3 separate regions of the Homo sapiens genome follow, and all the other regions are linked to region 2. The links are contacts of gene promoters, found by promoter capture Hi-C in human tissues and cell types (Jung and others, 2019). All regions are on one chromosome and are shown on one strand. Each heading gives the region's core, a stretch centred on a gene start or on the middle of the fragment in contact. The rest is flanking DNA. Distances are from core to core; before and after follow the strand shown.

The links. The method cuts DNA at HindIII sites, captures the fragments that hold promoters and counts their contacts. A contact is called where the count stands out against the background at its distance.
Region 1: a contact is called between a fragment that was not itself captured here and the fragment with the promoter of TMEM30B in region 2, in 1 of the 25 tissues and cell types used here (heart left ventricle).
Region 3: a fragment that was not itself captured here is called in contact with the fragment with the promoter of TMEM30B in region 2 in 1 of the 25 tissues and cell types used here (mesendoderm cells).

What each region holds. Positions count from the first base shown.
Region 1 is chr14:61,502,491-61,505,532 of GRCh38, reverse strand. All of the region lies in intron 10 of PRKCH (protein kinase C eta), which reads right to left. Among named protein-coding and RNA genes, the nearest start is that of PRKCH-AS2, 41 kb to the left of the region's middle. The HindIII fragment of the contact is 8,499 bases long and covers 1-3,042 here.
Region 2 is chr14:61,280,013-61,283,079 of GRCh38, reverse strand. TMEM30B (transmembrane protein 30B) reads left to right here and starts at 1,742. Exons shown (of 1, transcript NM_001017970.3): 1 at 1,742-3,067. The coding sequence starts at 1,933. The coding sequence ends at 2,988. It also overlaps a transcript of PRKCH not described here. RefSeq lists an enhancer at 2,317-3,067. The HindIII fragment of the contact is 14,970 bases long and covers 1-3,067 here.
Region 3 is chr14:61,077,672-61,081,031 of GRCh38, reverse strand. It overlaps a transcript of SLC38A6 not described here. Among named protein-coding and RNA genes, the nearest start is that of SLC38A6, 98 kb to the right of the region's middle. The HindIII fragment of the contact is 7,669 bases long and covers 1-3,360 here.

The sequences.
Region 1 (3,042 bases), core at 388-2,887, 220 kb before region 2:
GTGGTGGCACATGCCTGTAATCCCAGCTACTCAGGAGGCTGAGGCAGGAGAATTGCTTGAAGCCGGTAGGTGGAGGTTGCAGTGGGCGATAGAGCAAGACTCCACCTCAAAAAAAAAAAAAAAAAAAAAAAAAAAAAGAAAAGAAAAGAAAAGAAAAGACAAATCCTAGAGAGCTCTCTCACGGCTTCCACCATGTGAAGTCTCAGTGAGAAGGCAGCTATCCGTGAACCAAGAAACAGGCCCTCACCCGACACCAAATCTGCTGGTACCTTGACCTTGCACTTTCCAGCCTTTAGAGCACTGAGAAATAATTTTCTGTTGTTTACAAGCCACCCAATCGATAGTGTTCTGTCATAGTAGTCCAATGGAGTAAGAAATACTTCAGACATTCAGCAATGAAAGAAGTGGGGAGAGAGGTATCTGTCTCTTCACTTCCTTCAGCTCTATGAAATAAAACCACAAATAAAAGCTCACTTATTTCCTTCCATGTAACTTTCACAATTGGTAATTACTTTTACTTGTTTGTGTGCTTACACTAGAATGCCTGCTTCCTGTGGGCAGGGAGCAGGCCTATTGTGGTCACTATTATATCTCCAGGCAAAAAATAGGTCTCAATTAACATTTGTTGAATGAGTAAATGAATGGATGGATGGATTAATAAATGAATACAAACCTATAAAGTTACAGACAAATTTATACCTCATGTAAATATATTAACATCTCATATAAAGGACATAAAACAAGAGGCGTAAGGGAAAGGCAATTTCCCCCAGTGTGTCTCTGAAACTAAGGTAGTGACTGATGTTAAAAAATAAATCTGTTCTTAATGCTTTAGTTACTAAATTTCCTATTTCTGAACGAGAGGAGAATACTCCATCAAAGGAAAATGCTGGAGAAATTCCCCTCCTACAGAGGGACCCCTCTCAATTTGTAAAAACACCCTTTTTTGTTTGGTTCTACCATCTTAAAGAAAAAAAAGTAGAAATGCAGACACCTCTTTGTATGATGACCATGCAGTGTACCGCCCAAAATGGGCCTCAGACGGCTGGGTGCGGTGGCTCATGCCTGTAATCCCAGCACTTTGGGAGGCCGAGGTGAGTAGATGACTTAAATTCAGGAGTTCAAGACCTGCCTGGCCAATATAGTGAGACCCCATCTCTACTAAAAATAACAAAAATTAGCCGGGGGTGGTGGTGAGCACCTGTAATCCCAGCTACTCAGGAGGCTGAAGCAGGAAAATGGCTTGAACCCAGGAGGTGGAGGTTGCAGTGAGCCGAGATCGCACCACTGCACTCCAGTCTGGGCAACAGAGCGAGACTCTCTCAAGAAAAAAAAACCCAATAAACAAAATGGGCCTCTGAGAGTAAAATGGGTCATGAAGGGGGATTATGGGAGCAAACTGGGACTTTTCTGGGCAAATGATGACATGGGGTCTGACCTACCTCTGCAACAGGTAAGTTAATCTAAGCTCATTCAAAGTTAAAACAATTTTTTAAATAATTCTTCCATTTAAAATGTGTTGTTAATTGAACCCTTCTTATCTTGAACTCTGATGAGTTTTTATCTTGAGAATTAATTCTTGCAAAGTAAAGTATCTTGAGCTTCTCTGGTAAGTTTTTGATTCTAGAGTTATATCTTAAAACACAAAGTATAACACAGGTCACTTTCCCTGGATGATATATCAAGTGAGATACTGTGAAAATACTCTGCATGGTAAGCCCTCGACTCTACCTCTTTCTTTTTATGAAAACAGAATACATGGCACAAAGCACAGCTGCCCCTGAGACATGCTTCAGAGGTAAAGCGCTTTGTAACAGATTCACTTCCTTTCCCAGTGCCACAGAACAAAGATTACACTCAGCCTTCCTGGACATAAAAACTTCAGTTTTTCCCATTCCTCCTGCCAAAGCTGAAATGCCGAGAAATGCTGGGAACCTGGCCTGTGATTATACACACTTCATATTTTACATTCTGAAACCCCAAGGAATAAGCTGTTGAGAACAGAGTCCTATTTCTTAAATGGCAGTTGAACAGATACAACGCTCAAGCTCTGTTGAGCGTGGCTTAGTATTTGCATAGGCAGAAACAGACAAAGACTGCACAGATTCTGCCAGTCTGTGGGCACCTTCCCGGCATATGTGGCAGACCTCAGTTAACTTTTCTCACTTATTTCTGTTTGGTTGTTTTTTAACCTTCTGAATTACTCAACCAGATTCTTACAGGAAAAAAAAAAAAAAAACCACTAACACACATACAAATCAGTCACAGGGAAACTCAGTTACGGCCTCTGACGGGTTTGAACCTGTCTATTTGCAAATGAGAAAACAAAATTTCAGTGTTCTTTAGGCCAAAATAGTATCTACCCTGCTCCTTGGTGCAGCAATAAAATGGACAGCCCCACAGTAATCAGATTTTGGGTTTGCTTTTGTCAAAATTTTCCTCCTCAGTTTTGTAAGTTGATTTCACCGCCACAGTATATTTTTCTCAATTCCACCTTCTGTGTAGGAGTCAAAAAAAAAAAAAAAAAAAAAGCCTGCTTCCCTTCCTCTCTTACATTCATTCCTTTCCTTCAAGAACCAACCCAAGAGCCACACATCCCCCAGGAAGGGCTCGAAAGGGTGAATTCCATGACTCAGTGTCACCTGCCTTCCTCTGCTGCTCGGCCCCATTTCTTTGTCAAAGGAGTGTTAAAATCCTCACTCGGTGAACTTGGGAAAGGCAAGCTTCTAGCTGCTTGGATTAAAGACTGAATACCCCCTCTTGCTTCATTTGCAAGATTTGGGGCTGCTCCCATCTGTTCTTAGAGGGCAGGAGCTCATTTTTAATTTTTTCTCTCTTGACATTATTTGGGACAGCGCCCATAGAGAAAGGTGTTTGAGAACTCCCTGGTGAATAAGCAGTCCACTCTGTACAACAGAAGGCACTCTATAACCACGGTAGAAGTATGTGCTGCTACTCTTTAATCCAGTTATAAATAATGACTGGTGCAACTGCTCTACCTGGAGCAGTAGTGCTGGAAAGAAATCTTTCTTTGTAGCTTGT
Region 2 (3,067 bases), core at 493-2,992:
TGGACAACTGAGGGAGACACCTCTCTCTCAAAAAAAAAAAAATCTACAAAAGTTGTGAAAACTGAATTCCTTCCTAGAGACGAGTTTTGTGGACTAGTGATTCAATGAAACGGGTGGGTGGAACTCAACCATAATGATACAAAGAACTATTTATTCTTTTATTGAAAAAAAGGGTGACTGGAGACTGGATCACACTGTGGGAACTTGCTGAGAATTTTGGAACTTCCTCTCTTTGGGTATGATAAGAAGTGAGGGAATTGAAATTCAAGTCACTTGAATTTCCCTCAGTCTTCTATAATACCTGGTTTCCAACTTGCATTCATTTAACAAACTGGAATCAATGTTCCATTATTAAATCAATATTACTTTTTAATTTTAATGTGACTTGTAGAATGCAATTTGATACTTGATTACACCCTATGATTCATAGCTATTATTGGCTATTTTGATTGTTTCTTACTCCTAATATGTCCCCTATCAAACTGCAAATGCCTTGAGGTCAAAGGTCCTTTTTTGTCTAATTAGCATAGGACTGAACACTTGGAAGATGCTAACAACATTCCTCTGTTAAATTTAATAAGGATTTTAACTTTCCAAGTTCAATGGGTTTTGAATGACTCCTGAATATAATATATTATGCTAGGTGTAGTGTAATAGAGAAAACATTTGTATTACTTGCATTTTACAAGCTGGAGGAGAAGCAAGAACACAATACCTAGGGAAGATTTAGATTTAGTAAGAAATCAGAACGTCCCAATACCCCCTTGTATATGTTTTACCAACCTAGATTTAAAAAAAAAAAAAAAAAAGCCAGAATCCCAGGCAACATAGGGAGCTAATTTGAGTTCTTTTTATAATAAATCCTATAAATCCTTGTAGTTTACTTCCTTAGGCCAGACACTCCAGATGTTTTTGTGGATAGCAGCTAGGTCTCCTGGGACCTTGGATTGGGCCTTTCTCTAGTCAGGCAAATAATCTGAAAAGAAAACGAAATCACATGTAGTCCAGCACATTTTTTCCTTTCTTGGTTTCTCCACACCAGCTAAGAGTTATTTAAAGGCTCTGAACCTCTCCAGCCTTTGATTCTTTTTAAGGATGATTTTATTTTTAGAGAACTTTCCACATTTCCTAGTTATACAGCCAGACTGGGTGATCTGGCCAGAAAATCATTTTCCCTTAAAAAAAAAAAAAAAAAAAAAAAAAAAAAAAGCTAAAATTTGAACGCAGGCGTTGAATTCGAAACAGATTTATCATAACGTAATTCCCTGGACACTCCCAACTTGAGACTGAAAGCTGGGCGAAAGCGGTTTGTGAAGCTAACCTAAAAGACAAAATGGTCTAGAGCCACCTTTTCCCCGCAAATAACAGAGGATTAAGGATCTGAAATCTTCAAGCCTCCAGGACCACGGTGCAAGCCCTCAGCAAAAATTTCTGCTGGAGGCCGGAGCGCCTTTTGATTTCGGGAGACTGGCCCAGGAACTCTAGTCACTTGGAAGGCGGAAGAGAAGGTGGTACCTGAGCCAGGTAGGAGCCACTCAGAGGCAGCCCGGGGCCGCCACTCACCTAGGAGAGGAGGTGGAGTCCGATGACCTGGACTGAGAGGAAACGCGAGACTGAGTCTACCAGGTGAGGTAAAAAACACCCACCTGCTCACCTCGGAAGGGGCGGGCGAGGTGCGGCTCCCGGTGACCCGCGGGGGTGCAGCGCACCTGGGCGGAGGCGGAACTGGGAGGGTGTGGGCACTGCTCGTAGGGCCTGGAACTAAACTCACCTGTGACGGAGGCAGAGGAGGGGCCCGGGCAAAAACCCACCTGAGCTGGCGGGAAACCCGACCCGCGAGCAGTCCCCGGGCTTGCGCGGCGCGGAGAGGGAGGCGCCCCGCGGCGGGGCCCCCACTCGGTCAGCCCGCGCGTCGGTCCCCGCGCGGCCGCCATGACCTGGAGCGCCACGGCCCGGGGCGCCCACCAGCCCGACAACACCGCCTTCACTCAGCAGCGCCTCCCCGCCTGGCAGCCGCTGCTGTCGGCCAGCATCGCGCTGCCGCTCTTCTTCTGCGCGGGCCTGGCCTTCATCGGCCTGGGCCTGGGCCTCTACTACTCCTCCAACGGCATCAAGGAGCTGGAGTACGACTATACAGGCGACCCGGGCACCGGTAACTGCTCGGTGTGCGCCGCGGCTGGCCAGGGCCGGGCGCTGCCGCCCCCCTGCTCGTGCGCCTGGTACTTCTCGCTGCCCGAGCTCTTCCAGGGCCCAGTGTACCTCTACTACGAGCTGACCAACTTCTACCAGAACAACCGGCGCTACGGCGTGTCCCGCGACGACGCGCAGCTGAGCGGACTCCCCAGCGCGCTGCGCCACCCTGTCAACGAGTGCGCCCCCTACCAGCGCAGCGCGGCCGGCCTGCCCATCGCGCCCTGCGGCGCCATCGCCAACAGCCTCTTCAACGACTCCTTCTCGCTTTGGCACCAGCGCCAGCCCGGCGGGCCCTACGTCGAGGTGCCGCTCGACCGCTCCGGCATCGCCTGGTGGACCGACTACCACGTCAAGTTCCGCAACCCGCCGCTGGTCAACGGCAGCCTGGCGTTGGCCTTCCAGGGCACGGCGCCCCCGCCCAACTGGCGCCGGCCAGTCTACGAGCTCAGCCCCGACCCCAACAACACCGGCTTCATCAATCAGGACTTCGTGGTGTGGATGCGCACGGCGGCGCTGCCCACGTTCCGCAAACTGTACGCGCGCATCCGCCAGGGCAACTACTCGGCCGGGCTGCCGCGGGGCGCCTACCGCGTCAACATCACCTACAACTACCCGGTGCGCGCGTTCGGCGGCCACAAGCTCCTCATCTTCAGCAGCATCTCGTGGATGGGTGGCAAGAACCCCTTCCTGGGCATCGCCTACCTGGTCGTCGGCTCCCTCTGCATCCTCACCGGCTTTGTCATGCTGGTCGTCTACATTCGCTACCAGGACCAGGACGACGACGACGAGGAGTGATTCCGGCTTTCCAGGGATCCCTCCTGCTTCTTGCCAAAACTCTTGCAAGGTGCTTTTGGCATCTCCTCCTCGCCCGTCA
Region 3 (3,360 bases), core at 753-3,252, 200 kb after region 2:
TACCTCATGCCAGAAAACCGAAATCCAAGTCAGATGGTTAAAGCATTAATAGCAGTGAGTGTTGTAAAGACTCAACAATGTGAACCTTCCCAAAATGAACCATCCTGACCTCCCTCGCGCTGACAATGCGTGTGTGACATCATGTGTAAATGAGCCTTAAATTTGAACCAGGTGCCGAGAGCTGTCTGGCGTCTCCTGGCTGCTGTATTAACCACTAACATGCACAGGGGGATTCTGAGGCAGTAAAATGGAGCGAAACCAACAGCAGTGACCAGGGCCCGGTGCAGCAGCTGTAGCAGAGAACATTCAAATCACACCCACCCGACTGGGCCTGGGCCCCCGGGTCCTGTAAAGCATATTTCCGGAGGGCTGGGGAGCCTAGGGAATTTGGCTGCCTTCATGCAGAGACAAAAGCTCCCCATGCAAATCAAACCACTTCGACTTGCTTCCCAGACTTGATTCTGAGCTGTTTTGATTTGCATCCATGAGGGTAGAACTCAAGTTCAGACTGAAGCTGCAGTTGGTAAGAACCAAAACCTATTGCATGCAGGTACAGGCAGTGTAAGATATATTTTTGGAAGGCACAATTTCCAAAGGAGAGAGTCAGCTCCAAATTCTCAGGTGCTATGACTTTCACCAGGCTGGGACCTGGAGAAAAAAGTGTGCCTTTGTCCATTTGGCATCACAGAGTCCCTCAGCTGAGCCTCTCCCCACAATAGGTCACATAACACGCCAGCTCTAGAGAACACGAAATCAAATTTGGAGGGATGGAATTAGGTGTGTATAGTGGGTGGGTGTCCTTATCATTGTCAGTCATAGGTATGAGAAAGTAGATGAAGAAGAGTAAAAGCAAGTTAGGAAGAAATAGTTCTTTAAAAAATTAAGCCTGCATAAAATTAACAGGTTATGTTGTTGTTGTTGTTATTGCCTTTTAATGCTTATTGTTCATGGTGCCCAATCTCAGGTTATTAACAGCTTGGCCATGTTAAAACCTGTATCCTGATCATCACTAGCAGGCCTACAGCAGAGACTGGAGACAGTGAGGATAAGAAAGAGGTGTACCAAGTGATCCTCTCTTGCTGGGGACTGTTCTAGAAGCTCTACACATGCTGGGGAAAGGAGCAGAAGCCAAAGACAGGTGAAACTCCCATTCCATGGATCCCACAGGATTTCAGCCTCAAAGAAATCCTTCGTTGTTCAGGGCACACTCTTAAACCATCAACACTCACCAAGTATACTGCACTGTACCATGAAGTCTCTGAGGTGGATGGGTAAAGTAGGGATGGGAGGCAGGTTCTGGATGGAGGATACAAAGGAGTTGGCAGATGTGGAACCTTTCCTAAAGGCTGTCGCAGGGTGGTTAGACATACAAATATACAAGAATTTGTATATTTTATCATTTAGAGAAATTAAATGTAGCATCAAGATGTTGAGCATAGGTTTCCTGAGTAATGGAGCAGTTACATTAAGTCATAGTCAGGTAAGTCCTTCTAGAGGAGGTTGAGTGTGGAAACAGGTTTTGAGGGAGAAGAAACGCTTTGGAGGGGAAAGAGAAAAACAACATGAATGGTTTGTGCAAAAGTTTGGAGGCAGGAGGCCGGGCACAGTGGCTCACACCTGTAATCCCAGCACTCTGGGAGGCTGAGGTGGGTAGATCACCAGAGGTCAGAAGTTCGAGACCAGCCTGACCAACATGGTGAAACCCCGCCTCTAATAAAAATAGAAAAATTAGCTAGGTGTAGTAGTGTGTGCCTGTAATCCCAGCTACTCAGGAGGTGGAGGCAGGAGAATCGCTTGAACCCGGGAGGCAGAGGTTGCAGTAAGCCAATACCCGCCACTGCACTCCAGCCTGGGCGACAGAGCGAGACTCTGTCTCAAAAAAAAAAAAAAAAAAAAAAGTTTGGAGGCAGGAACTCATAGGAAGTCTCTTAAGATGCCAGAGGTCTTGACCTGGCTCGGTGGCTCACGCCTGTAATCCCAGAATTTTGGGAGGCCAAAGTGGGCGGATTGCTTGAGCTCAGGAGTTCGAGACTAGCCTGGGCAACATGGTGAAACCCTGTCTCTACAAAAAGTACAAAAATTAGCTGGGCATGGTGGCGCATACCTGTAGTCTCAGCTACTCTGGAGGCTGAGGTGGGAGGATTGCTTGAGTCCGGGAGGCAGAGGTTGCAATGAGCTGAGATCACACCACTGCACGCCAACCTGTGCGACAGAATGAGACCCTGTCTCAAAATAAATAAATAAATAAATAAATAAAATAAAAAATAAAAATAAATAAATTAAATAATTAAAAAAAAAAAGATGCCAGAGGTCTTAATAGGATCTGAGGGCATGAGGAATTTTCCAAAACTCCAGAAAAAGTTCCTCATATGCCCAGGAGCTGAGACTTAAGAACAAATCAAGTGTGGTTTTTAGATAACTAGCCCTTGAAGGCCTAAAGTGCTTCTTTTTAGCTTTTGGAAGACGATGGCACTAGTCCAATGCAGAGAGGCAATTAATCTTTCTCTACCACTTCTACTTGATGTAAAGTCCAAGCTCAGCCTGGGTCCAGCATTCTCTACATCAGGATCCTACCCTTCAGCTTTACTTCTCAAATTGCTATTACATCTGTGCTCCTGGCAAAATTTTTACTTGTCATCTCCAAAGTATACCTTGTATTTTCCTGTACATATTGTTAGTATTTTCTTTCCAAACAGGAGTATCTTCCTTTCATTCTCATTTCTACTTTGGTTATCCTTCAATTTTACTTCAGTTGTTGCTTTCTTCACAAAGTCTTCCCCACTCACCCAGAAGGCAGTGAACCCCACCTCTATGAGCTTATCCAGCAGAGCTTTTAATGTTCATATTACTCACCAAGATATGTCATTCTTTCAACAAGCACGCACAGATGGCCTCATGTGCATGTGGCACATGCAATAGCCACACCCTGCGCTTCAGGGTATTACCGTCCCAGGTATTGTATAGAGGTCACCTCCATTGGATTGTAAGTTCCAGTAGTTTACCAACTAAAGAAAAATACTGTACCTACCTAACAATGCTTTGTGACAGGGAAAATCAGCTATTCACAAATGAGGCTGGAAATATAATTTGAGAATTTGCTCTCGCCAGAATAAAGTTCTAGATTGCTACAGTAGGGCTCTCTGATTTATTAAAAGCAAATTACTTTTTGTTTTACTATAGAAGTAACAACATTATGAAATGTTTAAGTAACTGAGTGTGGGAGTGATTAGACATCTTTTGGGAGAGTTGAGTAGAAAAAAAAATTGAGGAAAGCCATTTTACACTGAAATTAAAATGTATGAATACAAGTCTATTTATGTAGTCTCATGAGCTAATAAATTGAGAACCATTCTGGATGAA